Regions from separate parts of the Homo sapiens genome. Here all the other regions are linked to region 4. Evidence: promoter capture Hi-C in human tissues and cell types (Jung and others, 2019). All regions are on one chromosome and are shown on one strand. The core of a region is centred on a gene start or on the middle of the fragment in contact, and the rest is flanking DNA. Distances in the headings are between cores, read along the strand shown.

What was found. The method cuts DNA at HindIII sites, captures the fragments that hold promoters and counts their contacts. A contact is called where the count stands out against the background at its distance.
Region 1: a contact is called between a fragment that was not itself captured here and the fragment with the promoter of UCK1 in region 4, in 3 of the 25 tissues and cell types used here (IMR-90 fibroblasts, aorta and hippocampus).
Region 2: a contact is called between a fragment that was not itself captured here and the fragment with the promoter of UCK1 in region 4, in 1 of the 25 tissues and cell types used here (spleen).
Region 3: a contact is called between a fragment that was not itself captured here and the fragment with the promoter of UCK1 in region 4, in 4 of the 25 tissues and cell types used here (IMR-90 fibroblasts, adrenal gland, dorsolateral prefrontal cortex and 1 more).

The regions. Positions count from the first base shown.
Region 1 is chr9:132,284,947-132,291,905 of GRCh38, forward strand. SETX (senataxin) reads right to left here. Exons shown (of 26, transcript NM_015046.7): 16 at 3,604-3,705; 17 at 3,290-3,405; 18 at 1,477-1,548. Among named protein-coding and RNA genes, the nearest start is that of SETX, 67 kb to the right of the region's middle. The HindIII fragment of the contact is 5,333 bases long and covers 2,183-6,959 here.
Region 2 is chr9:132,231,206-132,238,290 of GRCh38, forward strand. The region is part of intron 5 of NTNG2 (netrin G2); the gene reads left to right. Among named protein-coding and RNA genes, the nearest start is that of NTNG2, 73 kb to the left of the region's middle. The HindIII fragment of the contact is 6,849 bases long and covers 465-7,085 here.
Region 3 is chr9:132,099,811-132,106,960 of GRCh38, forward strand. LOC105376302 (a long non-coding RNA gene) reads left to right here and starts at 3,410. Exons shown (of 3, transcript XR_930403.1): 1 at 3,410-3,497; 2 at 3,903-3,996; 3 at 4,362-4,772. The HindIII fragment of the contact is 4,547 bases long and covers 3,115-7,150 here.
Region 4 is chr9:131,528,417-131,534,933 of GRCh38, forward strand. It overlaps UCK1 (uridine-cytidine kinase 1), which reads right to left and starts at 2,847. Exons shown (of 7, transcript NM_031432.5): 1 at 2,651-2,847; 2 at 2,070-2,229; 3 at 1,072-1,168; 4 at 712-854; 5 at 528-622. The coding sequence starts at 2,758. RefSeq lists enhancers at 99-1,298, 2,004-2,917 and silencers at 2,333-2,382, 2,583-2,942, 3,083-3,252. The HindIII fragment of the contact is 11,870 bases long and covers 1-6,517 here.

The DNA.
Region 1 (6,959 bases), core at 3,599-6,098, 760 kb after region 4:
CCACTCACTGCAAGCTCTGCCTCCCAGGTTCACGCCATTCTCCTGCCTCAGGCTCCCGAGTAGGTGGGATTACAGGTGCCCACCACCACGCCCAGCTAATTTTTTGTATTTTATTAGAGACGGGGTTTCACTGTGTTAGCCAGGATGGTCTCAATCTCCTGACCTCGTGATCCGCCCGCCTCGGCCTCCCAAAGTGCTGGGAGTACAGGCGTGAGCCACCGCGCCTGGCCAAAGCTATTTTCATTAACTGTTTATCTGATGATAATTATCATAATTGTTTTTTGCAGTTTATGGGAAGCAGAAATAGAGCACCTTATAAGAAAGAATTTAAATATTTACCAGACTTAAAACAAAAAAGATAACTTATAACCACCTCTTAGAAATCTTAGATGGTGGTAAGAATTCATTCTTAGGTTAAAGAAAAAAATGCAAATGTTGTTACACCATTTTCTCCACTTCCACAGATGTTTGTAATTTTTCATAACAATTTAAAATGTAACTGAGAAAAGCCCATAGCTGGCCAGGCATGGTGGCTCACGCCTGTAATGCCAACACTTTGGGAGGCCGAGACGGGGGATGACTTGAGGTTGGACGTTCCAGACCAGCATGGCCAACATGGTGAAACCCCATCTCTATTAAAAATACAAAAAAAGGGCCAGGCATGGTGGCTCACGCCTGTAATCCCAGCACTTAGGGAGGCCGAGGTGGGCGGATCACAACGTCATGAGATGGAGACCATCCTGGCCAACATGGTGAAACCCCATCTCTACTAAAAATACAAAATTTAGTCGGGCGTGGTGGCGCACACCTGTAGTCCCAGCTACTCGGGAGGCTGAGGCAGGAGAATCACTTGAACCTGGGAGGCAGAGGTTGCAGTGAGCTGAGATTGTGCCACTGCACTCCAGCCTGGCAACAGAGTGAGACTCTGTCTCAAAAAAAAAAAAACACAAAAGAGGCCAGGTGTGGTGCCTCACGCCTGTAATCCCAGCACTTTGAGGGAGGCTGAGGCAGGAGGATCATGACGTCAAGAGATCCAGACCATCCTGGCCAACACGGTGAAACCCCGTCTCTACTAACAATGCAAAAATTAGCTGGGCGTGGTGGCACACGCCTGTAATCCTAGCTACTCGGGAGGCTGAGGCAGGAGAATCGCTTGAACCCGGGAGGCAGAGGTTGCAGTGAGCCAAGATCACGCCACTATACTCCAGTCTGGTGACAGAGCAAGACTTCACCTCAAAAAAAAAAAAAAAAAAAAATTAGCCAGGCATGGTGGTGCACGCCTGTAATCCCAGCCACATGGGAGACTGAGGTTGCAGTGAGCTGAGATCATGCCACTGCACCCCAGCCTGAGAGACAGAGTGAGACTCTGTCTCCAAAATAAATAAATAAAAGCCCATAGCTTGTCTGAACAGTCATACTTAAATTTTAAAAAGAAAAAAAAAAAAATCAAGAAAATGCTACAGGTGAACTACTTACCTCTTTAATTTTAGAAGCAAGTTCCTGCCTTTCCTTAGAAACTTTGGAAATGTTTTCATCTAATTCTTGCCTCTGGAAAAAAATTCAAATGTCACAATTAAAACTAAACTAAGCATTTTTAAATGCCTTCCAATGGACTACCTCTAATTTTAAAAGAGCCTGTATTTCACCAATGAAAAATGTATTTACCCAGCTTATTTCCTCTTTACCACTGGAGTCCTGACACACTCTGTATGCTGCTGCGTAAGACTCAGCTGTGTTCTGTGCGCTGCACGTGAGCTGTCTGCTTAGCATTCCAGCACTGGGAGCATCACGCCACCCTTAACTTCCAGGTGATTCAAATGAGGCTGTAAATCACACCCCAACCATTCCTCTGGCCACAGTGATGGGCATCTAACACAGGCCTGGCCAATCATGCACCCATCTTCTTAAAAATAGGGATTAGACCTGCTTGCTCACCCAGGGACTAAACTAACTGCTTCTTTGGATATATGGATGCTAAGAGAAAGACTTTCTCTCCCTCTGGGGTTTCAAAGCTGAGATGGTGGAAGCCCTGAGATGCTGACACTCACCTTTCTCAGAAGAAATGGCTGACACACAGAAAAACAAATTATGGAGTGGAGAAATGATATCATGTGACCCTCTGGATCCACCCATACTGAAGCTAATTCCCTTTCTGTCTAACCTAATTTGAACTGGGCTCAACATGCAACTGAAAGGCAACTAATAAACTCAGTATAGCTTTAATATAAGGCAGTACAGCCTATAAGCCAAATGCAAGGCCATGTGCAGGGACTCATGCCTGTAATCCTGGCACTTTGGGAGGCTAAGGTGAGAGGACTGCTTGAGGCAAGAAGTTCAGACCACCCTGGGCAACATGGCAAGACCCAGTTTCTACAGAAAACAAACAAAAAAATTAGCCAGGCATGATGGCACACGGCTGTAGTCCCAGCTACTCAAGAGGCTGAGGCAGAAAGACAGCTCACTTGAGTCCAAGAGCTTGAGGCTAAATTGAACCACAACTGCACCACTGCACTCCAGCCTGGGCCACAAAGTGAGACCCTATCTCAAAAACAAACAAAAACGCAACACCCCATCTATTTTCGTAAATAAAGTTCTACTGGAACACAGCCACATCCATTTGTTTATGTATTATCTATGGCTGCCTTTGTGCTACCAAAAGCAGAGTTGAATAGCTGCAACAGAAACCAACCATATGGCTTGCAAAGCCTAAAATCTTTACTAGAATATCTTGCCCTTTACAAAAAAGTTTTTAAAAAGATTTTTAACAAAAGTAATTTTAATAAAAGAAAAAATGAAAAAAAAAATTAAAACCAAAAGGACAAAAAAAAAAAAAGCAGAAAGAAATGTGTTAATCTGAGACACATTTTTAGTGTCTTAGTACACATTTTTATACATGAATCATGCCATTCCCCAATAAATAAAGGGCATTAAATACTCATTAATTAGGCTGGTCGCAATGGCTCATGCCTGTAATCCCAGCACTTTGGGATGCTGAGGTGGGCAGATCAACTTGAGGCCGGGAGTTCGAGACTAGCCTGGCCAACATGGTGAAACCCCATCTCCATTAAAAATACAGAAAATTAGCCAGGTGTGCCGGCACAACCTTGTAATCCCACCTACTCGGGAGGCTGAGGCAGGAGGATCACCTGAACCCAGGAAGGTGAGGCTGCAGTGAGTCAGGATTGTGCTACTGCACTCCAGCCTGGAAGACAGAGCAAGACTCTGTCTCAAAAAAAACTTGTTAACTAGTTCGTATACCTGAGTTATTATTCAAGAAATGCAAAGATACCTGTATTTCCCGTCCACCTCGGCATAGAGCTCGCTGCCGGGAAAGCTCATCCAGCTGATAATCTAGAAATTCCTTTCTTTTATGCATCGCCTGAACATGAGAAGGTAACTCTTTTTCTAATAAAAATAACAAATAAAAAATTATATGCTATTCTAATTCTAACAAACTCACACACATATACAACACAATGAGAAGGAAAATTAGTTCCCAAAGCCAGACTAATTCTGGAGGCTTCAAATTACCTTTAGTGCCCAAGTCATTTTCCACCAAACAAAACAGAGAAAACACTAGTATATACCACATTCAGTACTTACTCATTCTGTGGTTTACTTGGCTGTCCAAACTGAACTTTAGAACCTCACTATTAATAGACTTTTCTGGACCCAGTCGTACTAAATTTATATCTCCACAGTTTCCTGTTGATAAGAATCACAGTTAAGGACTAATAAGGACACTGCTGATCAATCCTGTCTCTATACATAGTATCTATATTTCTAAGTAAATATGTTAATAATCAGAGAAGGGAGCAAACATGAACTTCCAATTAACCAGACACCAGGGACTACACCACAAACTTCTTATACATTATTTCAGATATTGTTCCTAACAATCCTATAAGGCAAGTAGTTATCATTTCTACCTAATAAAGGTTAGCAAGGCCATCTAAACAGTACACTACAGAGTTGAGATTCTATTACAGTAACATTTTCAAACTATGTTCAGTAGGACATTCCATAGCAAAATAGTTTCAAGAAAAATGATGAGATAAAATAAACGAAGCAGTTCTCTCATGTTGGGGAAAGGGCTTGTGGGGTGCCTGCATAAACCAGCCATAAAAATATGGAACAGTAAGTTGTAGAAAGCCACAAGAGGCCTCTGAGGAGTAAAGCCTTCTAATTGCCATCATGTTCCCATGACCAGAATGTGACCTGCTCTCCTATCTATAAACACTGTGCTCAAGGAGAAAGATACTCCTTTGAAGCACTGGAATGTGGCCAGATATGCCAGCTCCTAGTTAGGCCCACTCCCCACAGCTGCTCTCTGATAAGTTAAAAAATAAATCAGTAGTTAAGTTTATACTGCTTCAGCACAAAGAAAATTTACCTAAACCGCCATTCCTATACATTAGGTGTATGACACACGGCTCTCCTTTCACCATTTCACTATTTATTTCAATAAATAGTGTGGAGATCATAGCTTGGAGCCTTTGCAGCCTCTGATTTGCTCTGGCCCCCTGGTTCCCTCCTTTATGAACTCTTAACCTGTCTCTTCTCATTTCTTTGTCACCACTGCACTTCGGGTACCCTACGGGTGGTATTGAGGCTGATCCCCAACACTCTTAACTGCAGAATATTTCAAAAACTTTTATATGTTATATATTAATATGTAATTTTCAGAACAGAATCTTATTTGACCATCGAGCCTTCTTTTGCAGAATACTCAGAATAAAGCTTTTAAAACTATGTTCCACATCACCTTGATACTCTAGAAACTAAGGGACACAAGATGATAGAAATTCTTGGATATAATAATTGCAAGAACTATAAAAACCAATTTAACCTGCCTGTTTACTAACCACATTTTAATCTCAGGTTAACACATTGCTTTCTTCTTGTCCTTTTGGTTTTAATGTTTTTGTTTTTTTCTTTTATTATAATTTCTTCTATTGGGTTTTTTAAAATCTTTTTTCTGACCAGGCACAATGGCTCACGCCTATAATCCCAGCACTTTGGGAGATATAAGTGGGCAAATCACTTGAGGTAAGGAGTTTGAGACGAGCCTGGCCAACATGGCAAAACCCCATTTCTACTAAAAATAAAAAAATTAGCCAGGCATGGTGGCACACACCTGTAATCTCAGCTACTCAGGAGGCTGAGGCTGGAAAGTTGCCTGAACCCAGGAGGTGGAAGTTGCAGTAAGCCAAAGATTGCACCACTGCACTCCAGCCTGGGTGACAGAGCAAGACTCCGTCTCAAAAAAACAAACAAAAAAACACCTTTATTCGTCTTTATTTTTTTTCCCACGTGTTATTATTTTATTTAAAAATTCTCCATTACAAGGCTGGGCACAGTGGCTCACACCTGTAATCCCAGCACTCTGGGAGGCCAAGGCAGGTGGATCACGAGGTCAGGGGTTTGAGACCAGCCTGGCCAACATGGTGAAACGCCATCTCTACTAAAAATACAAAAATTAGCTGGACGTAGTGGCACATGCCTGTAATCCTAGCTACTCGGGAGGCTGAGGCAGGAGAACTGCTTGAACCCAGAAGGTGGAGGTTGCGGTGAGCTGAAATCGCGCCACTGTACTCTGGCCTGGGAGACAGAGCGAGACTCCGTCTCAAAAAAAAAAAAAAAAAAAAAAAAAAATTCACCACTACAGCCAGGTGCAGCGGCTCAGGGCTGTAATCCTAGCACTTTGGGAGGCCAAGGTAGGCAGATCGCTTGAATCCAGGAGTCTGAGACCAGCCTGGGCAACATGATGAAACTCCACCTCTATCAAAATTGACAAAAATTAGCCAGGCGTGGTGGCCTCCCCCTGTGGTCCCAGCTACTTGGAAGGCAGAGATGGGGGTATTGCTTGAGCAGGGGAGGCAAGACCAGTTTCATAAATAAATAAATAAATAAATAAATATTCCCCACTATATCACTGGGCTAAATTATGCAATCATGTAGAGTTTGTCAGCATTTATTCTAATTGGACACGTCACAGTTATTTGTTTACTGTCTATCTCCATCCTTTAAATGTTAAGCCCCAAAAGAATAGGGTTTTGATCACCACCTAGAAGAGTGGTGGGCACATAATAAATACAATGATTATATGAAAAATGAATGGCTTATTTTTAGTTATCTACAGCATATTTTTTATCCCAGTTCAGCTCATTTTCCTAAATTTAAGGTCAACATTTACTTGAGGGTTTGAAAACCTTTTTTTTTTTTTTTTTTTTTTTTTGAGACGGAGTCTTGCTCTGTCTCCTAGGCTGGAGTGCAATGGCGCAATCTCGGCTCTCTGCAAGCTCCGCCTCCCGGGTTCACGCCATTCTCCTGCCTCAGCCTTCCGAATAGCTGCGACTACAGGCGCCCCCCACCACGCCCAGCTAATTTTTTGTATTTTTAGTAGAGATGGGGTTTCACTGTGTTAGCCAGGATGGTGTTGATCTCCTGACCTCGTGATCCACCTGCCTTGGCCTCCCAAAGTGCTGGGATTACAGGAGTGAGCCACCTCGCCCGGCCTGAAAATTTCTTAATTCACTTACGTTTCCACTAGAAAGGTAGATGAGATTACCTGGAAACCCACCTACTATAAGCACCCAGAAATGTTCCGCAAATTATAACAGATATCCTTTACACTGCTGGGTAAGCTCAGGGGAATGTTAAGAGAAATCCCTAGAGGCCAAAAACAGAGAGAGAGCTGAAAACCAGATTTGAAAGCCCCTGAGCTGTTGTGGCACCCGTAAGGGAGCAAGGCTGGGCAGTGTCTAGGTGCCTGGGTGTCTGTTTTGTTCTTTAACATTCTTGAGGTATAATTTACATTCAGTAAAATGAACAGACTTTAAAATTCTATTGAGTTTGACATTGCTAAAGCTACCATTCCAATAAAAACATATAAATTTCTACAATGGGAGCTTGCTAATGCCCACAAGAAAGTAGAGGGGCCTGAAAGAGGTGGAAGA
Region 2 (7,085 bases), core at 2,639-5,138, 700 kb after region 4:
GGCGACATGGCGCCCACAGGTTATCAGTAAATGTCATCGAGACTGTCCCCAGACACTCACAGGGTGCCAGGCACGGTCTCTCCTTTCAGCCTTGCAAACCCCTCCCCCTGGGAGGTCGCCATCTGCTCTGCGAGGCAGCAGGAGAGGACTGGCCAATGTCAAAGAGCCAGCCGGGAGCAGACCCCAAATCTCAGAGATGCTTCTGGGGTGCACCGTCACCCTCCACCAGGGCTCTGTGGGGCCCCACATCCCACCCAAGTTGTCCCTCCCGGACCCAGGGGGCCCCTGGCTGGGAAGCCAGTGAGCCGAGAGGGCGCCAGAAAGAAGCTGGACCCTGCAGGGACGCTGGTCTGCACAGCCGTCGTAAGTTGCTTCTCTGTGGTGTCCCCACCCCGGCAACCCCCCAACCCTCTCTTGCTTTTCCCATCTCTCACCAGGCATCAGCAGGTCCCAGAAAGACCCCGACCCCAAAGGCCCTGTGGCCACTGCGGCCACCACAGCCATGACAGGGGCCCCTACTACTCCTGTCCCCTCCACGTCCACTGCCTGGGCCCCCATGGCGCCCAGCACCCCACAGCCCACAGGTGGGTGCCAGGGTACAGCGACCCCTGTCATCCCACCCTCTCCTGCTTCTAGCCTGGGTCCCTGCCTCTCTTGGGGTGGGAGGGTCGGCAGCCCTGGGCAGAGAGCAGGGGCTTGGCTCTTAGAATAGAGACGCTAGAACCCTAGAGCTGGGAGGCCACAGGCCAAAGGGGCTTGAGGACACCTGGGTCAACCTGTTCCTGAGCCCAGCCAGGGGATTCAGGGATCAGTTCAGCTTCCAAAGTCGTCTTCCTCCTGCCCTTCAAGCCATTGCTTGGAAGGGCTCCCAGACCATTGTGGCCAGACGGCTGCAGGAACTGAGAGGAAAGGTGCTGGGGGCAGCGAGGCCATCCTGACATGCAGCCAAAGACTGGCCTTATCTCCCAATGGTGCTTCTGCCTCCGTGGTCCCTGGAGCCCCGCCCACACCCTGTCCCCACCTGGCCCCCAGGGCCTCTCTGTCCTTAGCCCCTCAGCAGCACACCGGTGGGATGGATGGAGCAGGGTTAGCCCAGAAAGCAAATGTCTCTGATCAGCAGGGCAAAGGGAGCCTCTGGAGCTGAGTTTGGACACCGTGGGCTGCTGGGAATGTGGAGGCTGTGTGTGTAGTGCAAGGCCAGGCCAGGGCCAGACGTCCTGCCCCCTCAGGGGTCTGCCACAGACAGGCATGGAAACCTGATTCTCGCTCCCCTCCAACGGAGGGATTCACGTGTATTCAAGGCTGGGGGTGCTGGAGTGGGCCTCTGCTCTCACCTGGACTCACCTGGGGAGTATCCCTGCACTCTGTGCAGTGCAGGTGCCAGGGGTCTGAAAGGATTTATCCTTCCCAGAGGGCACCAGGAAGACGATGACCAAGGGGAATTCTTCCTGGTCCCAGCCAGGGAGGGGTGCTCCAATAGCCTGCCACACCCTGTCCCCCGCCACCCTGCAGGGAGGACCTGGTGGGGACTCCTGGCCCCTTGGGTAGTGCCCTGGCCCTCCATCTCTCTGATCCAAGGAGACCTGCCCCACTGATCCTTCCCCCTTGGGGGGTGGCATTTCTAAAGGGCAGAGTCCCCTCCATCAGCTCCTGCCTCGGCCTGTTGCTGGGTGGACACTCAGGCTCCCCAGACAGGGGCAAATGCTGAGAGAAAGACCTCCTCCTTCCTAGGCCATCCAGAGCAGCTCCCCTGGGGGCAGCACACCCCACCTCTTTCTACATCCTTCCTTTTCTGCAGGAGGCATTTACAGGAGGCAGGGGCTAGCCAAAAGATTGGAGGATTTCCGGGAAGCCTCCTGACCCAGGAATCCTCTTTGGGGTGGAAGACATGGGTCACTCTGAGAATTCTGGACTTCAGACATAGGTTGGCCCAGCCACAAGGGACCTGTGCTTTGCTGCTGAGCCTGTGGTGGGCAGACAGAAGCAAAAACAGTGGTGGTGGGTGCTGTGCCTGTCTCCAAACAGGGGTTTGGCTGGGAGGCCAGATACTCTCCATATCACATGTGCAAGTGCACACATGCACACACACACATGCATGCACACACACAGGCATGCACACGCACATGTACACACACACACACACAGAGGAATCCATTTGCAGAGCTGCTTCTGACTTGGTGCCAGGGCAGCCGTGGGAGGCTGGGCAGATTGTGCAAAGTTGGGAATTAAAGAGGAAAAGTCAGAGGCCAGAGTGGGAAATGCAGGGGAGGTGAGGGTCCCCAGGACCCCCTCAGTGAGCAGAAGGCACACCCTCCCTCTCGGCAAGACAGTGCTGCTCTGCACCCTCAGCCCTGTATCAAGAAGCAGGACATTAGGGGAGGAGGTGGCTCCAATGTGACAGCCAGTGGCCCCTACAGCCCACATCTAGGGGCTCCTCCCTCCTCTTCAGCAACTGAAGCCCCTGTCCAGAGCCCCCATTAATGAAAACGATCATTGCAGTAGCTGAGGGTGAGTTCTCCTGGGCTGTGCTCGTATCATTGTATCATCATATCATTGTATTCTGGGCTCACAGCTCCGTGAGATGGAGGCTGTTATTTTCCTAGTCCCACAGGTGAGGGGATCGAGGCTTAGGAAGAAGCAGCTGGATTTTATGATATGTAAATTACACCTCAATCAAGCTGTTTCAGAAGAAAAAAGGGGCAGCTGCTCAAGGTCTCAGAATTATGGAGAGGCACGGGCAGGATTTGAACTCAGGGCTCGCCAACTCAGCCACCCAAAGCTATTGTCCTGAGGCCTCCAGGGGCTATGAGGTAGAGCTATCTTTTTTTTTTTTTTTTTTGAGATGGAGTTTCGCTCTTGTCGCTGAGGCTGGAGTGCAATGGAGCAATCTCAGCTCACTGCAACCTCCGCCCCCCCAGGTTCAAGCAATTCTCCTGCCTCAGCCTCCCGAGTAGCTGGGATTACAGGCACCTGTCACCATGTTCAGCTACTTTTTGTCTTTTTAGAGAGACAGGGTTTCACCATGTTGGTCAGGCTGGTGTTGAACTCCTGACCTCAAGTGATCCACCCGCCTCAGCCTCCCAAAGTGCTGGGATTCCAGGCGTGAGCCACCGCACCCGGCCAAGTAGTGCTGTCTCCAAGGCCTGGCTTGCAGGGCTTCCCAGTTCCAAAGGAGCAGACCGGGCTTCCATGGGGCCTTGGCACAGCACACAGGCCATGGCGAGAACTTGCTTCCCACACACCTGAGTGTGTCCCTGGGCAGCCAAGCCAGGACTCTCTCCCTCCCCAAGACCCTGGTCCCTGAAAGATCCTGAATACCCCCGAGTGCCTCCCAACAGGTGCTTCGGGCTCTTTGAACAGAGTCCAGCTGGGCCTCTGAACTCCTGGGCCAGATGTTTCTCCCGCCTGCCAATGTCAAGCTGTCTGGAGGACAGCGCTGCGGGCGGAAAACGCCGCTGGAGACACTAATCCTTTCCTGGGCTGGGCCACGGAGGATGGAGGGAGACAGGCTCTGAAGCAAATGCCTTCAGGGCTGGCTTTCTCATGGCTCTAATTAAGCCCTTGCCAATTTGGGCCTGGCGGCCTCATCTTCCCACTGAACATCATATTAAAGTCAATTCATGTCCAAAGCTCCCCGCTCCCAGCTGGAAAGTCTTCCGCACTTGTTAGCTGGTAGCTTTTCCTTTTCTTTCCCCACAGCCACCGTTGTGTATAATCCCTTCAAGAAGCGGAAAACAGCAGCGCTCCCCTGTCCCTCTGGGTTTGTCCTTTGAAATTTGGGCACAGGGCAGTTCTTTGCCAGCCCTGCCTGCCTGCCTTGCTGGCTGTGTGTCCCGTTAGTCTACGGGCTGAGCGTTGTGTCACTGGTTCATGCTGGGGTCCCTGGTGAAAATGGGCCAGGCCAGGGGTCAGGAAGGTAGAAGGGCAGTGATCAGGGAAGCAGGTCAGATGCTGGGGAAGGCTCCGGTCCCTGGATTGCGGCTGGACAGGAAGGACACCTTCCAGGACACTTCTGGACACATGTAAGATCTTGGCCGGAACACATGTCCCACTTCGCAGCCATTAGCCAGAGACATCAGCTCAGAGAGGTCTGGGCCCAGAGGCGGGACCTGGTCTAGCTCTGTCCTTCAGTCAGAACGGGGACGGCACAGGGAGTGTAGAAGGGTCTCGCTGAAGAATATGCAGATTCTCAGGCATGGGTTCACCTCTCATCTATCGGGCTTTAAGTCTGCATGTGCCCTCCACAGGCTGAAATAGTGTAGATGCTGCCTATGTAGTAGATTTGGACCCAATTCCTTTGGCCAGTGTAGACAGAGCCTCTCCTTATAGTGCTGCTGCTTCTAAGGGGCCTGTGGGGTGCGGGGCTGTGATGCCTCAGTATGTACCCAGCTTCCCTCAGCACCACCCCCTCGCATAACTTGGTTTCTTCTCTTCTTCCCCCCAAGAGTGGACCAGGCCATCTACGGCTGCCCCTCTCTCGAGCAGGTGGTCCCAGGTGGCCTCCCGTGCAGAAGGTATGGGGGGGCAAGGCCTGTGATGGGCCTGAGACCCCGGGGAAGCGCCCTCTTAGACTCGTAGGCCCCTCCCTCTGTAGTGGAAGTAGCAGGTGTGCATGGTGGGGACCTGAGGTTGGAGGGGGGCCGCAGGAACCAACTGAGGGCACGGGTGTAGAATGTCGGTGCCTGGGGAGCTCTAGGGCACAGTGGTGAGGGAGCGGCCTGGTAGAGCAGGTCTACCAGCTCTGCCCCCAAGCTCACCTGCTTCAAGAGGTTCCATGTGGCACCCCCACGCCAAGCCCTTCCACCAGCACTCCCTCCGAGGGCTTCGGAGTCTGGTAGAGGCCCCGCCTCCCACGACAGGAACCCCCCTCTCCAGCTGCCCTTGCTCACAGGACACCTGGGCAGTTGCTGGATCAGAGAGTCAGAGGGGGCTTCCTGCAGGAGCGGGGGCCATGAGACCTCGGAGGGTGGACTGTGGTGGGTGAAGGGAGAAGGCAGCACATTCCAGGCCGCAGGGCCAGCCGGGGCAAAGGCTTGGCAGTGGGATGGCAGGGAGCCTGACAAAGTGGAAAATGTGTGGGTTAAAGGAGGGAGGGCGGGGTCCTGGAAGACACTGACATCCTCCTGCTACGTGGGAGGAGACACAGGGCTCATCTGTAGCCATAGACAGACATGCCAAGGAAACGCGCAGGCCTGCCCGACTCTCCAGAAGGGAAATTGTCCCTGGCCCCAGCTCACCAAGCCTGGGTGGGGAATTAGGGCCTGAGGTCTAGGGAACAGGTGAGCTGTTCCTTCCAGCTCACATGTTCAAATTTCCTCCAGCCCCAGCTCTGAGCAGCGAGCAGGGCTTTGAGCGCCCTCTACTGGCAGGAAGCTCTGGCGCTGGAAGCATGTTTAGAGAGGGTCTGAGGCTCGGTTCCTAGAAACCTGGAGGACCTGGGCCTGGTGTCCTCTGTGGTGATGGAGACAGAGCTGGCGGGAGCCATCGCTTCCCTACCCTGGGCCAACCAGGGCACCACAGACCCCCAGAGGGAAGCCAAGGTAGTGACGATCCCGGGACAGTGGCCTGCTCACCCACAGATAGGGCGTTGGGGTCCCAGCGGGATTCTGGGCAGTGGAAGGCAGGTGCCGTCCGTGTTCCTGGCTTGACAGCACTTGCGAGTGGGACTCCAGGGACAGCGAAGGATTCACTTCGGCTGGAGCAGGAAGAGTGTTTCAGAAAGGAAGGGAGATGCCAAAGTCCTTAAATGCCAAGTTTAGTCTCTGGGTTTGATGCTCCAGGAAGTTTGGAGAGGCGGTGGGGAGAGCAAGAGACGGGCGTGGTGTGCAATGTGATGTCAATCTATCTAAAAACAGTTTGGCTTCCAAGAAGGTCTTAGCAGGGCGCGGGGGTGTCAGGGGTTACAGAAGTCATTTGGAGGATTAATCCAGCCAGATGTGTCCATGGTCTCAGAGAGGGGACCAAGGGCAGGGCTGATTTGCAAGCTTGGGATGTGCTGTGTTTCCTTCAGGAAGGGGCCCCACCTCCCTGGGCTCTTCGAGGAGAGGGGCTGTGTGATTTGAGGCCAGAGGGGCCTCTCCCTCCCTCACATCTGAGCAGGCGACAAGGCTGCCTGCCCTAGAGCTGGCCCAGGGCGGCTCGGAAGCCTTTGCTGGGCTCTTCCCTGGGCAGTGGGACCATGACAGACGAAAGAACCTGTTTCTCATCTCTCCAAGCTGTGGGCACCCCTGCCGCTGCCCCTGCCCCTGCCAAGGGCTACAAACTTTTCCAGCTCAAGCCCAAATCTCCTCAAGTGATGCCTATTGAAGAATTCCAAGGTAAGAGGATGGACCTGGGGCCCCATCAGCCCTCCCTGACACCTGTTCCCCATCCGCCGCTGGAAAAAGACGGTGCAGGATAGAGGACCGATGCCTGGCTCCGAAAACCCTCCTGGAGTAGCTGGGTCAAGGTTAAACTGAGTCTCTCTTCCCTACAGGCCTCCCTCCCCAAGGGAGCTGGGAGCAGGTATGAGTCAGAAGCCAACTTGGGCACAGTGGGCAGGCCACACAGCAGGCAGAGCAGATGCCAGAAATAGCCCATCCCGGCTCCCCTGGGAGGTGTGGCCCTGGGGCTCGTGTTGGTTGAAGCAGAATCTGGGACACACGGGTCACCGATGCTGCTCTTTGGGACACTTAGAGGATGCCTCATCTCCTCATTATCTCTGGAGGGACAAAGTGAAGGGGGCAGGACTAGGTGGCCCACAGGTGGGAGTGCCCACCATCTCTCCTGGGCACAGGCTGTTTCTCTAGTCTCCCATGCCCTTGACCACTGGGTCAGTCCCTCATCCCATCACAAAAGGGAAGCTGGGTCCTCTAGAGATACACAGATGGTGTTTCAAGAGGGTGGCCGTTGTCCTTCCTTGTTCGGGGGCAGCCACATTGGCTTTCTTGCTGGAGGGTGGGTGGGTGGGTGAGTACTGTGTCCCTTCGTAGGAACATCAAGGGATGCCCCCCCATTCTTAGGGATGGTGACCTTCCTCACCAAATCCTCCATTGACAATGTGGGATTCACCTCCAATCCCTGAGAGCCTTGCCCCAGGCAGTCAC
Region 3 (7,150 bases), core at 4,138-6,637, 570 kb after region 4:
GGACCAGGCAGCTCCCCAAACAGCTGCAGGGTGGCCTAATTAAGATGCTCCTTCCTCCAGAATGTCAGGTCTCTGGGCAGAAGTCAGCAAAGGCTGGGGGCTGGGGACAGTCAGGGAGGCAGAGGCAGACAGTCTGGAGGGACATCTTTAGCTTAGTGGCTAAGCTCATGGGCTGAAGGCCCCACCAAACAACGCTGGGTGCAAATCCTGGCTCTACCCCTTCTAATCTATGCATCCTTAGAGAAGTGATGGGGCCTCATTTGTGTCTCAGTTCGTCACCTGTGAAATGAGTAATGGTTCCTACTTCCCAGGGTTGCTGTGAGGACTACCAGGGATAATCCCTTTGATTCATTTAGTCATTCACTCACCACATATTTATTAACATCCACACGACAAAGTGGTGAATAAAACAAACAAACCCATAATCCCAGGCCTCATAGAGCCTGTGGTCTAGTGGGTAGAGAGACATGAATGAATAAAAAACCCTGATGATTTAATCAGAATTGTGATGAGCACAATGAGGGAGAATTTGCAAAGTAAGGCCCACCCAGATCAGAAGGCTCCAGAAAGCTTCAGCAAAGAAGGAATGTAGACTGTGGTCCGGTGCCTGCCACACAGTAGGTGCCTGTTAGTTCCTGTATGCATTTCCTTTGGTTGCTGTCACAAATTGCTGCAAACTGAGTGACTTAAAATAACATATATAGATCGGGTGCAATGGCTCATGCCTGTAATACTGGCACTTTCGGAGGCCATGGCGGGCAGATTACCTGAGGTCAGGAGTTCAAGACCAGCCTGGCCAGCATGGCAAAACCCCGTCTCTACCAAAAACACAAAAATTAGCTGGGCATCTCACACCAGTTAGAATGGTGATCATTAAGTCAGGAAACAACAGATGCTGGAGAGGATGAGGAGAAATAGGAATGATTTTACACTGTTGGCGGGAGTGTAAACTAGTTCAACCATTGTGGAAGACAGTGTGGCGATTCCTCAAGGATCTAGAACTAGAAATACCATTTGACCCAGTGATCTCATTACTGGGTATATACCCAAAGGATTATAAATCATGCTACTATAAAAACACAGGCACACATATGTTTATTGCGGCACTGTTCACAATAGCAAAGACTTGGAATGAACCCAAATGTCCATCAATGCTAGACTGGATTAAGAAAATGTGGCACATATACACCATGGAATACTATGCAGCCATAAAAAAGGGTGAGTTCATGTCCTTTGCAGGGACATGGATGAAGCTGGAAACCATCATTCTGAGCAAACTATCACAAGGACAGAAAACCAAACACCACATGTTCTCACTCATAGGTGGGAAGTGAACAATAAGAACACTTGGACGCAGGGCTGGGAACATCACACACTGGGGCCTGTCATGGGGTGGGGGGCAGGGGGAGTGATAGCATTAGGAGAAATACCTAATGTAAATGACGAGTTAATGGGTGCAGCAAACCAACATGGCACATGTATACATATGTAACAAACCTGCACATTGTGCACATGTACCCTAGAACTTAAAGTATAATAATAGTAATAATAAATTAGCCAGGCATGGTGGCTCATGCCTGTAATCCCAGCCACTCAGGAGGCTGAGGCAGGAGAATCACTTGAACCCAGGAGGTTGCAGTGAGCTGAGGTCATGCCACTGCACTCCAGCCTGGGTGACAGAGCAAGACTCTGTCTCAAAAAATAATAATAATATTAATAATAACATTAATAGTATCTTGCAGTTCTGGAGGTCATAAGTCTGAAATGAGTCTAATTTGGCAAAGAGCAAGGTGTTGGCAGGGCTGGGTTCTTTTTTGGAGACTCAAAGCAAGAATCTGTTTCCTCGCCTTTACCAGCTTCTAGAGAATTCCTTGGCTTGTGGCCCCTTCCTCCACCTTCAAAGCACATCACTCCAACATCTGCTTTCATGGTCATATCTCCTTTTTCTGACTTTGACCCTCCTGATTTCCTCTTATAAGAATCCTTGCGGCCAGGAACAGTGGCCAACACCTGTAATCCCAGCACTTTGGAGGCTGAAGTAGTAGGATCACATGATGCCAGGAGTTCAAGAGAAGCCTGGGCAACATGACAAGACCCCGCCTCTGTAAAAAATTAAAAATTAGCCTGGTGTGGTGGCACTGGTGACCCCAACTACTCTGGAGTCTGAGGCTGCAGTGAGCTATGATTGCACTACTGCACTCCTGCTTGGTTGACAGAGCAAGACTTTGTCTCAAAAAAAAAAAATCCTTGCTGTTTGATTAAACCCAACTTAATCTCCTCATCTTAAGATCCTTAATGTAGTCACCTCTACCAAGTTCCTTTCACCTGTCAGGTAACATATTCACAGGTTCTGGGGATTAGGATGTGGAAATCTGTAGAGGGGCATTATTCTCTCTACAACAGTCCAGGAAGTTCAATATCCAAAATGAGGAATTCCAGGTCAAAAAAAAAAAAAGAGATAGAGAGAGAGAAAATAGAGGGGCAGAAGTTATCAAAGAAAAATAATACATGACAATTTCCCAAAACTTTAGGGCAAACATTTCCAGATTTAAAGAGCCTTCAGAGTGCCAGTGTAAAATCATGTCAAAAGCTTCCAAAGACAGAATGTCATACACAAAAGATCAAGGATCAGGCACTGGACTTTTTTTTTTTTTTTTTTGAGACGGAGTCTCGCTCTGTCGCCCAGGCTGGGGTACAGTGGTACAATCTCGGCTCACTGCAACCTCCGCCTCCCAAGTTCAAGCAATTCTCCTGTCTCAGCTTCCCAAGTAGCTAGGACTACAGGCATGCGCCACCGTGCCCGGCTAATTTTTATATTTTTAATAGAGACGGGGTTTTGCCTTGTTGGCCAGGCTGGTCTTGAACTCCTGACCTCAGGTGATCTGCCCACAGGCATTGGACTTTCTAACATCATCACTGGAAATTGGAAGAAGGCACAGGCCTTCATAATCTTGCGGAAAAATATTTCCAACCTAGAACTTATTGATAATCTTATTTTATTTTTAGAAAGAGGGCCTTGCTATGTTACCAAGGCTGGAATGCAGTGACTCTTCACAGGCACGACTGTAGTGCACTAGTCAGGCTTGAACTTCTGGCCTCAAGTTATCCTTCCACCATAGCCTCTCAAGTAGCTGGGACTAAAAGTATGCACCACCATGTCCAGCTGATAATTTTTTTTCTTTTAGAGATAGGGTCTCACTATGTTGCCCAGGCTGGTCTTGAACTCCTGGACTCAAGTTATCCTCCCACCTCAGCCTCTCAAAGTGCTGGGATTACAGGTGTGAGCCACTGCACTCAGCCTCCAGCTGATAATTTTATCAATCAAGTGTAAGTGTGGACTAAGTATGTTTCAGACATGCCTGGTCTCACTGAATTTTCCTTCCATGCATCTTTTCTCAAGAAGCTACTAGAGGACGTGCTCCATCAAAATGAGAGAGTAAACCAAGAAAGTGGAAAACAGAGAATCCAGGAAACAGGGGATGCAACAGAAGAGAGAGGTAAATGTTATTACAGAGGACCCAGACCACAGGTGTGCACAGGGCCCAGCACAGCAACCAGGCTGATTGCAGCCCAGGATAGAGGGCTTAAAGCAAGACACAGAACTAATAGGTTCTGAAGTTTTAATTATATTAACAAAAGCTTTAGAGTTGTGACAGAGATAAATTAGCAACTACATTGAAAATATAAAAACCCATCAAAATTACTAACTCTGAGAAAAATGAAATTGTACCAAAAAACGCAATCACAGTGCATTGGGTAGTCAGTGGCATATAATATTTTCCCAAGTCATAGGACAGTAAACACTGAATATTGGTTTAACTAGAACCTGTGATCTTGGGGTGGTGAGATAAGATAAACGTGTGTGTGCCTGTGCCTAAGAACTAAATCCTCATTTTCTATAGCAGGTAGTCGATTATATGATGCTTAAAGCTGAAACATCAAGATAAAGCTAAAAGAGTTGAAGGTGGCTGCCTCTGGGACAAGGGATCAGCACCAGTGAGTAGGGCTATTTTTAGAATAAACCTTATAGGGCTACTTGATTTTTTAAACTATGTACATGCATTTCTTTATATATCTATATATATATATATATATACATACACACACATATATATACACACATATACACACATATGTATATATATGTGTGTATATATAGTGTGTGTATATATAGTGTGTGTATATATATGTGTATATATATATGTATATATATATATTTTTTTTTTTTTTTTTTTTTTTTAAAGGGAGGAGAGAAGGGAAGAAAATCCTCTCTGAAAAAGGAGGCATTGGCGGGTTTTGGGAGGAGGCGGCCCCTCTGGCATCTTTGGGTTTTCTCTGACTTCAGCCTCATTAAATCACAGGAGGGAGATGACCTCAGCAAAGGACATCGAACCTGTGGGAGCACCTGTGAGGCAAGAAGTCCTCTGCCCTCTACCCTCACCCTCCCCAGCCATCACAGTGCGGTGGCAGACAGGCCCTGTGAGCGGCAGGCACCTGTCAGTGCCAGAGTCCTCCCAGCAGGCCTGGTGGCCCTGGTGAAGGGGTCAGCTTGGGAGAGACGAAGCTTCTTGGGATGGAGCTGGGTGGGAGAGGTGGAGAGGAGGACTTCATGGCTACATAGTACATTACAATCATGCCTGTGAATAGTCACTGCACTCCAGCCTTGAAGGGAGATGGGGCAGGGGGTGATGGAGAAACTTCCTTGCAACATGGACCTGAGTGGATCCCACCCTCCTGACACCCAATGGGAATGTTAATATGGCTCAGCTTGCTCCGGCAGCCAGAGACACCCTCTGTCCTCTGAGGTCCTCAACTCTCTGCTTCAGTCTCCAACTCAGAGAAAATCTCAAGAGAGGGGCATGGCTCCTGGCAGGGGGGTTGGGGAACAAAAGAAAATGTCGCCTCCCATCAACAATGGGTATGTGGCTCCTGAGAGGGCTGACTCCTGGCACACCCCACCCCAAGTCATGTAGGGTCACTTTGGGTGGGGCTTCTGGGTTCCTAGAGGTAGGAGGGATTTGAGCAAGACCCCAGGCAGAACTCAGGCTCTGCAGCTCTGACACCCTGGAGCTCAGTACAGTCACAAAGAAAAGTGGTGAAGAGTTCAAAGAACATGGGTCACTCCTAGCCTGAGAACAAGAGAATGGCAGGTGACCCTAGATGGCGTCCTCTATCCTCTTTTAAAATATGGCCGGGCGCAGTGGCTCACACCTGTAATCCCAGCACTTTGGGAGGCCGAGGTGGGAGGATCACCTGAGGTCAGGAGTTGAGGACCAGCCTGGCCAATATGGTGAAACCCCATCTCTACAAAAACACAAAAACGAGCCAGGCGTGGTGGTGGGCGCCTGTAATCCCAGCTACTCAGGAGGCTGAGGCGGTAGAATCACTTGAACCCGGGAGGCGGAGGTTGCAGTGAGCTGAGATCGCACCATTGCACTTCAGCCTGGGCGACTGAGCGAGACTCCGTTTCAAAAAAAAAAAAAAAAAAAGGACGGTCACCATCAAATTGTACTGGGCTTTCAAGGGAAAAAAACATGTGAGATGTGCTATCAAAACACTGAAAGAGTAGACTTTAAGTGATGAACGTTCTCAAAGGGAGAAGGAAATTCAGTGTGGAGCTCCGTGAACAGCGGACGTCTCTAATTTGAACCCAAGAAGGAATAAGCTTATTCCCCAGATTCTCCACAGAATCAAAATCCACATCGTAGGGAACTAACTAGCATTGGTGGATGGTAACATGTTAAAGAGCAGGTGTGGGGACAGGGTGTGTCTGGGGTCAAATGTTTGGAAAATGCTGAATTAAACAAAGGAAATGGGCAAGAATGCTCAATAATGTTCATTGTAAACATCCCAAAGAAGTTTATATCTTTTGACAGTTGCACCTGTTTTTAAGAAGCAATGGATGGGATTATAGTTCCATGGAACACATTTTGGGAAACACTGGCCAAGTATCTCAAGCCCCTGAGGGCTTGGCCATCCCTAGCACCTGTGTGCAATATGCTTGGCAAGAACACACATCTGTGAGCTTCTTTGCTCCCCAAACCCCCACCTAGCTAGGAAGTTCTGAAATATTTGCAGGATGGACTCCATCTTTTTGTCATGCACAAGTCATATAGTTTATGGTTTTTGCAAAAAGGTGTGTCTTTCATTAATTTTCTTAGACATGGGGAAGAGCCTTGGAAAATAGGACCTTAGCTGACTCGATTCTTCTAGTTCTTACTTTTTTTTTTTTTTTTTTTTTTTGAGATGCAGTCTCATTCTGTCGCCCAGGCTTGAGAGTGCAGTGGTGCAATCTCGGCTCCCTACAACCTCCACCTCCCAGGTTCAAGCTATTCTCCAGCCTGAGCCTCCTGTGTAGCTGGGATTACAGGTGCCCACTACCACTCCTGGCTAATTTTTTTTTTTTTTTAGTTTTCACCATGTTGACCAGGGTGGTCTTGAACTCCCTTTCTCAGGTGAGCTGCCTGCCTCAGTTTCCCAAAGTGCTGGGGTTACAGGCATGAGCCACCAAGCCTGGCCTGGCTCTTTCTTTCTTGATTCCGTGGGTCTCTCTTCAACCCCACACATCACCCTGAGAATCACCTGTTTTCATGCCCTTGTTCCAAGAGCTGTTTGTCAAGCCTTAAATGACTTATGTATTTATTCAGGGTCCCTTTACCTTTTTAAAAGGTGGAATGCCACAGGCCCACTTGCAACAGGGGCTTCTCATGCGATATTGGTGCCCTTGAGGGTGTGGAAATGCGCAGGTGACAAAAATCCACTCTGTAGTCCATTCACCAAGTCTTAGTTGATTAACGCTACTATGATACCTGAGACTGGGTGTCTCATAAATAACAGAAATTCATTCTCTGGACGTTCTGGAGGCTGGGAGGTTCTAGGAGCCTGCAGGTTCCGTTGTCTGGTGAGGGCTGGTCTCTGTGTTTAAGATGGCACCTTATTGTTGCATCCTCCGGGCAGGGTGGGGGGCAACGCTGTGTCCTCACATGGCAAAGGCGGAAGAGCAAGGGAGCTGAAGGCTGTGTGAAGCCTCTTTAGTAAGAGCCTTAATCCCATTCACAAGGGAGGACCCCTCATGGCCTAATCACCTCTTAAAGGCCCCATCTCTCTTAATTCTATCACACTAGCAACACCTGAATTTTGGAGCGGACAC
Region 4 (6,517 bases), core at 1,597-4,096:
GCACAGCGCTCACTCCAAGATTTCAGAGCACTGGCCCAGAGCAGCCTGGGGTCACAGACCCTGGAGGAGCAGCTCTGAAGCACCTTCTGAGGGCCAGATCCCGGCCTTGGCAGTGAACAGACTAAAGTGCTCCTGGGCTTCCCCACTCTGCGGGGAATAAGCACCCAGGACGTGTCAGATGATGGTAAGTGCCCCGGAAAAAGGAAGCAGGCAGAGAGGCTGGCGCTGGGTGCAGAGGGTTTTCAGTGTTGAATGGGGACGCTGGGCAAGGGCCTGAGGCAGGGAGGAAGCGGCCAGTGTGAATGTGGGGGAGATATGGGGCTTTTTTAGGCAGAGGGAGGAGCAGGCACAGAGAATGTTTTTACAGCTGAGAACTACTCCCAGGGTATGTGGCCATAATGAGCCAAATTCTTCTCCTTTTTTTCAATCAGATCACTGTCACCCAGCACTAAGCCCTCTCACAGTACTGGGTCCCATGTGTCCTTGTGAAAGGGGAAAATGGGCTCTGAAGCAGCGAGCACAGGTACCGGCAGGCAGAACTCCTCGAAGGCCGGCTTCACGAAGGTGGTGTACTGCGTCAGAATCTGCTCCAGGTCCCTCCCTCGGCGCACGTCCCGGAGAACTGCAGCGGCAAGGGGCAGGCGTGCTTCAGACCTCAGGACCTGCCGCCAGCCTCGGCCAGGCAGGCACGGAGGCCCGCGGCCGCCTTACCTCTTCGAGACAGCCTGACGTCGGAGTCGGTGTCCACGAAGAGGCGCAGGTGGAACATGTCCCGGATCTCCTGGCTGTAGAACACCAAGATGCCCTCAAACAGAACCACGTCCGCAGGGTAGACCACCGTGGTCTCTGGTAACCTGAGGGGCGCACGGGGAAAGGGGCTCTGCTGCAGACACAGGGTCTCCAGGCCACACACACAGTCAGCTTCCATTGCAGGGACACTGACTGTGGGAAGGGGTGGGGGACCCACAGAAACCAACCGGGGGAGGCCTGCCGCCAGGCAGGTCTGTGTGAGCCCGAGGGGACGTCCTAGCTGGCCCCTCTCCTCGGCCCTCCCTAGAACCACCTGCTTACCTTGAGTGTGTCACAAAATCATAGGTCGGCACCTCCACCGTTTTGCCCTCCACGATGTTCTTCAGAGTCCTGTGCATCAAATCATTATCAAAGGCATCTGCAGGGTTGGAGACAAAGGCAAGACAGGCAGATGCCCTCGTGCAGCGGACAGCAGGGAACCCTCTCTGCTCTGGGGTCAGCACAGCTGGGTGCTGGGGACACCGAGAACCCTAGCACAGGTAGACTAGGACTACGGCAGTGTATGTTTGGTAGCAACAGTGCCCTCTGCAGCCCTGCAGACCACAGGATGACCCTGTCCTTGCTGTTCTCGGGCTGTGCCACTGCCCAAGCTCTGTGCCCCTGAGATGCCGGAACACAGGGGTTTTCTGATCAGCTCTTCCTGGGAGGTGGGTAGGCTGGGCCTCTGCTTCTCTCTCTTTCTGGGACTAACTGGTTAGACTGCGGCTTTGCAGGCCTTCTTCCCACAAGTCCTTGGGAAAAGGCTGACCATGCCAGCCAGCCAGGGTGGAATCTTCTAGCAGTGGCAGGTGTCTCCCTGCCGCATCTGCCCGTTTACCTGGCCCGGAGCTTCAAGCCACCAGCACTAGTTTACCTACCGCCTCCCACACTGGCCTCTCTGAGGACTTTGCCCCAAAGCACGGGAGGGCACAGTGGGCAGAGGTGTGTGTGGAGGGCCCTAAAGGCCCCAACGTGGGAAGGGAAGATGGGAGGATTTCTCCAGGATCACAGTTGTGGCAGGGCAGGGCAGGGCTCCCCACAGTGCAACAGGCTTCCTGACTGGCTCCAACCACGCTCCTGGGGGGACACTCAGGGCCCAGAGAACTCAGCAAAGTTCCCCTGACTTCACTGTGCAGCCAACTCCACTGCAGGCTGCGTGGCGAGTTGGGGGAACAGCCCAAGCGGGTCTGCATCCATCCAACCTTGGGCCCAAGCGCAGCTGGTTAGCGGCCGCCCAGAATGGGGTCTGCCCTCCCCACATCGTTGGGCTCGCGATTTACCTGGATGGTCAAAATTGTACTGTCCTTTCAAGGCCTTGGCCTTCTGCTCTGCCGTCAGGACCTTGTAGAACCTGTCCTGGCTCAGGATGACCACCTTCCGCTGCCGCTGTTCCACCTCGTTCTGTCCCAGCAACTCCATGATCTTCTCACACACGGTCGACTGGAGACACAGAAGCGGGATTCCCGCCTGGAACCGCTCGTCCTGTGACAGGCACGGGGCCGGCTTCTGGAGACACTGACCCACCCGCCCCCTGGGGGGTATGCTCGGAAGGCGGGAGGACACCAACAGGTGTGGATGGTCTCAGCGGAAGGGCCGCGGGGGCCCAACGGGGTTAGCACGGACTTGGGGCTCCGAGGAGCCCGGCCGGCGGAGAGGCTGTGGGGGAGCCCCGAGGCCCAGCGCCCCAACCCCTCGCCCGCCCCAGCCCGCCCCGGCCCATCGCGGCCTGCAGCCCCTTCGCTCCCGCGCCCTGCCCCTGCCTGGCAGGGGGCCCCTCGGCCGGGGCTGGGGTCTCCTCTCTGGACCGGGCCGCCCGTAGGCACCGGCGAGAGGCGAGACCCCGGCCCGCTCGGCCCCTTACCTTCCCGCTGGCAGTGCCGCCGCTCACCCCTATCAGGAAGGGCCGCTGGTGCGGACGGTCGGCCTCCGGCGCGGGGCTCTCGCAGTCTTCGCCTCCCGCCGAAGCCATCTCGGCCTCCGCTCCCGCGCATCGGGTCCCCGCGCCCGCCCCTTCCCCAGGCCCGGCGCGCCCGCCCAGCGCCGAGGTCGGAGGCAACCGGAGCGATCACTTCCGGGAGGCGCGCGGGGCACGCCGGGAGTTGTAGTCCACCGGGGGGGGGGGGGCCGCGCATGCGTGAGGGTGCAGGGCCCGAGGCCGGCACACCAGGAGCGCCCGCGTCCCATTGCGCCGAAAGCTGGCTGGCAGGGACTGCTGCGCCCGGGCCTCGAGCCGGCTACAAGGTCTCAGACTCAAGTGGCCCGGAAGGTGCCCGTTCCGCACCCCGAGGCTGGGGCTGCGCCTTCGTCCGAGTGCTTGCCTCTGCCTCGCGCTGCCTCTGCGCCAGTCCCGGGCCCTCCCCCGGCCGCCCCCGGGCCTGGCCCCCTCCAGCCCAGGCTCCTCTTGGCCATCGAGGCCTCCGGACTGTCCGGACGCCTCCCACCCCACCCGCTGCTGGAGCCGTCGGGGCGCCCCGGAACGTGGCGGGGGCTGTCGCCTGATGACTTTAGGCTCGCGCCTACAGCGCGCCAAGGAGGCAGAGGCCCATGTGCCGGGTTCCATCCCTGCCGCCCCCCCGCTCCGTGCCTGGCACAGAGAACGTGACAGGCAAATTCTGATCCATTGAAATTATGGATTTCCAGCCGGGCGCGGTGGCTCACGCCTGTAATCCCAACACTTTTGGAGGCTGAGGCGGGTAGATCACGAGGTCAGGAGATCGAGACCATCCTGGCGAACACGGTGAAACCCCGCCTCTACTAAAAATGCAACAAATCAGCTGGGCGTGGTGGCGGGCGCCTGTAATCCCAGCTACTTGGGAGGCTGAGGCAGGAGAATCGCTTGAACCCGGGAGGTGGAGGTTGCAGTGAGCCGAGATGGTGCCACTGCACTCCAGCCTGGGCCACAGAGCAAGACTCCGTCTCAAAAATAAAAAAGAGAGAGAGATAGCTAAGGCTCGGGGCAGAGCATGCTTTTCATATACAAAACAGACAACCCCGGGCGGACGCGGTGGCTCACACCTGTAATCCCAGCACTTTGGGAGGCCGAGGCGGGTGGATCACGAGGTCAGGAGATCGAGACCATCCTGGCTAACATGGTGAAACCCCGTCTCTACTAAAAATACAAAAAATTAGCCGGGCATGGTGGCGGGCGCCTGTGGTCCCAGCTACTCGGGAGGCTGAGGCAGGAGAATGGTGTGAACCCGGGAGGTGGAGCTTGCAGTGAGCCAAGATCACGCTACTGCACTCCGGCCTGGGGGAAAGAGTGAGACTCTGTCTCAAAAAAAAAAAAAAAAAAAAAAAAGACCCCAAGTCTACAGCCCCAGCTACCTCCTTATCTAATTCTCGCCTTTGGAGGCAAGATTCTCCCTGCCCTAAGTCACCCAGGGCCAGGTATCAGGTGACTAGAGACCACTCTGCAGCCCAGAGCCTGCTAGAATTACTCAAACTAGCCAATTTTAAACTCTTTCCCTGCCCTGCCAGGCCTTTTCCATGGAAACCCCAAGAAAGCCTCAGGCCTGGGCTCTCCCCTCGCCCCTGCTTCTGCCTCCTGACCAAACCTGGGGTTCTCTACTGAGAACCGTGCATGGCATGGGTGCCCCTTCTCTCAGGAAATGCGATCAATCTTGCGATGGCTTTGGCCTCTCCTCATGGTCATTCAGCCGTACCTCTGTAAATTAAGCCCCAGGCACAGAACAGTGCCTAGCAAACAGCCACGCTGCTGGCTTAGATCTGTCCAGGTGTGTGTCCCAAAGGTGGCCATCCCCCAAGCCAACTTTGAATTTGTATCAAGGGAGAGTTAGACACGGTTTCTTGCCATTTCTTCCCCTGTGGTCCAGCCACGTAGCGAAAGGCAGGGAAACTAGCAGAGTCTGACCAGGGGCTGTCCCTGATACCCCTGGCCTGGGTCTCGTGTGCCCTCTCTGGTGACTGGCCACAAGGCATGGGCTGCCAGGGCCAGTCAGGCTATTGCGTGGTTCCGCTCCCAAGGCAAAGGGACGCTTTGGGAAGGAGCCACTCCCTGGGAGCAGGCCCAGCACCCAGGAAGCCCACAGTCCAGTAAACAAGGCCCGGGCCCACACGGCTCAGGCCTCTGGGCCACAGTGGCTCCCCTATGGGACCATCCCAACCACCACCAAGCAGAGGGCCAGCCCCAAACCTCTAGCTGGTCCCCAACTCCCCATATTGTGAAGAAGAGTGACTTTTATGGGTTTTTTTTGTTCGTTTTGAGACGGAATCTTGCTCTGTTGCCCAGGCTGGAGTGCAGTGGCATAATCTTGGCTTACCGCAACCTCCGCCTCCCGAGTTCAAGCAATTATCCTGCCTCAGCCTCCCCGAGTAGCTGGGACTACAGGCACCTGCCACCAGGCCCGACTAATTTTTGTATTTTTAGTATAGAGACAGGGTTTTGCCATGTTGCCCAGGCTGGTCTCGAACTCCTATTCACCTGCCTCAGCCTCCCAAAGTGCTGGGATTACAGGTGTGAGCCTCTGTGCCCAGCCGAAGAGTGTCCTTAAAGAAGCATGAGTCAGCCGGGTGCAGTGGTTCACGCCTGTAATCCCAGCACTCTGGGAGGCCGAGGCAGGCGGATCACTTGAGGTCAGGAGTTCGAGACCAGCCTGGCCAACATGGTGAAACTCCATCTCTACTAAAAATACAAAAATTGGCCGGGCACGGTGGCTCACGCCTGTAATCCCGGCACTCTGGGAGGCTGAGGCAGGCGACTCACGAGGTCAGGAGTTCAAGACTAGCCTGGCCAACATAGTGAAACCCCGTCTCTACTAAAAATACAAAAAATTAGCTGAGCACAGTGGCGGGCGCCTGTAATCCCAGCTACTCGGGAGGCTGAGGCAGGAGAATCGCTTGAACCTGGGAGGCGGAGATTGCAGTGAGCCGAGATCACGCCACTGCACTGCAGCCTGGGCAAAAATAAATAAATAAATAAGTAAATAAATAAGCCGAGCATGTTGGCATGCGCCTGTAATCACAGCTACTCAGGAGGCTGAGGCAGGAGAACTTGAACCCAGGAGGCAGAGGTTGCAATGAGCTGAGATCGTGCCACTGCACTTTTTTTTCTGTCTGCAAAAAAAGAAAAAAATAAAAACTAGCTGAGTGTGGTGGCATAGGCCTGTGGTCCCAGCTACTGGGGAGGCTGAGATGGGAGGATTGCTTGAGCTTGGGAGGCAGAGGTTGCATTGAAGAGAAATCGCGCCGCTGCGCTACAGCCTGGGTAACAGAGCGAGACCCTGTCTCCAAAAAAAAAAAAAAAAACAAAAAAACGTTGTTGCTGAATTGGGGGGTGGGGGTAGGTGGAGAGTTGGGTGGAGGCTTGGAGCCCTCGGAGTTTGGGTTTCCCAGAGCCAGGCAAGGCAGTACTCCTAAGAGTGACCACTGTCTACTCTGGATTCATTCTCTTACCTGCTCTCTGGTGCGGGATGTTGAAAATCGGGGAGGCTGTGCATGTGGGGGAGTGGGGAGTATATAGGAAATCTCTGCACCTTCTGCTCAATTTTTCTGTGAATCTAAAACTGCTCCCCCTGCCCCCTCAAACACATGCAGTACAGGAAACACCGCTCTCCATGGCTGCCCTCCTCCCTCCTCCTTCAAGCCACCCTAACCACTACAAAAATGTCAGCTCATGCCAAGCATGTCCTGAAGCTTTTATTGAACACTAGCTGGCTCTCAGCGCTTAAAGAGATAAGCAGGTGCCTGCTGTTTTAAGTATTGATTGCCC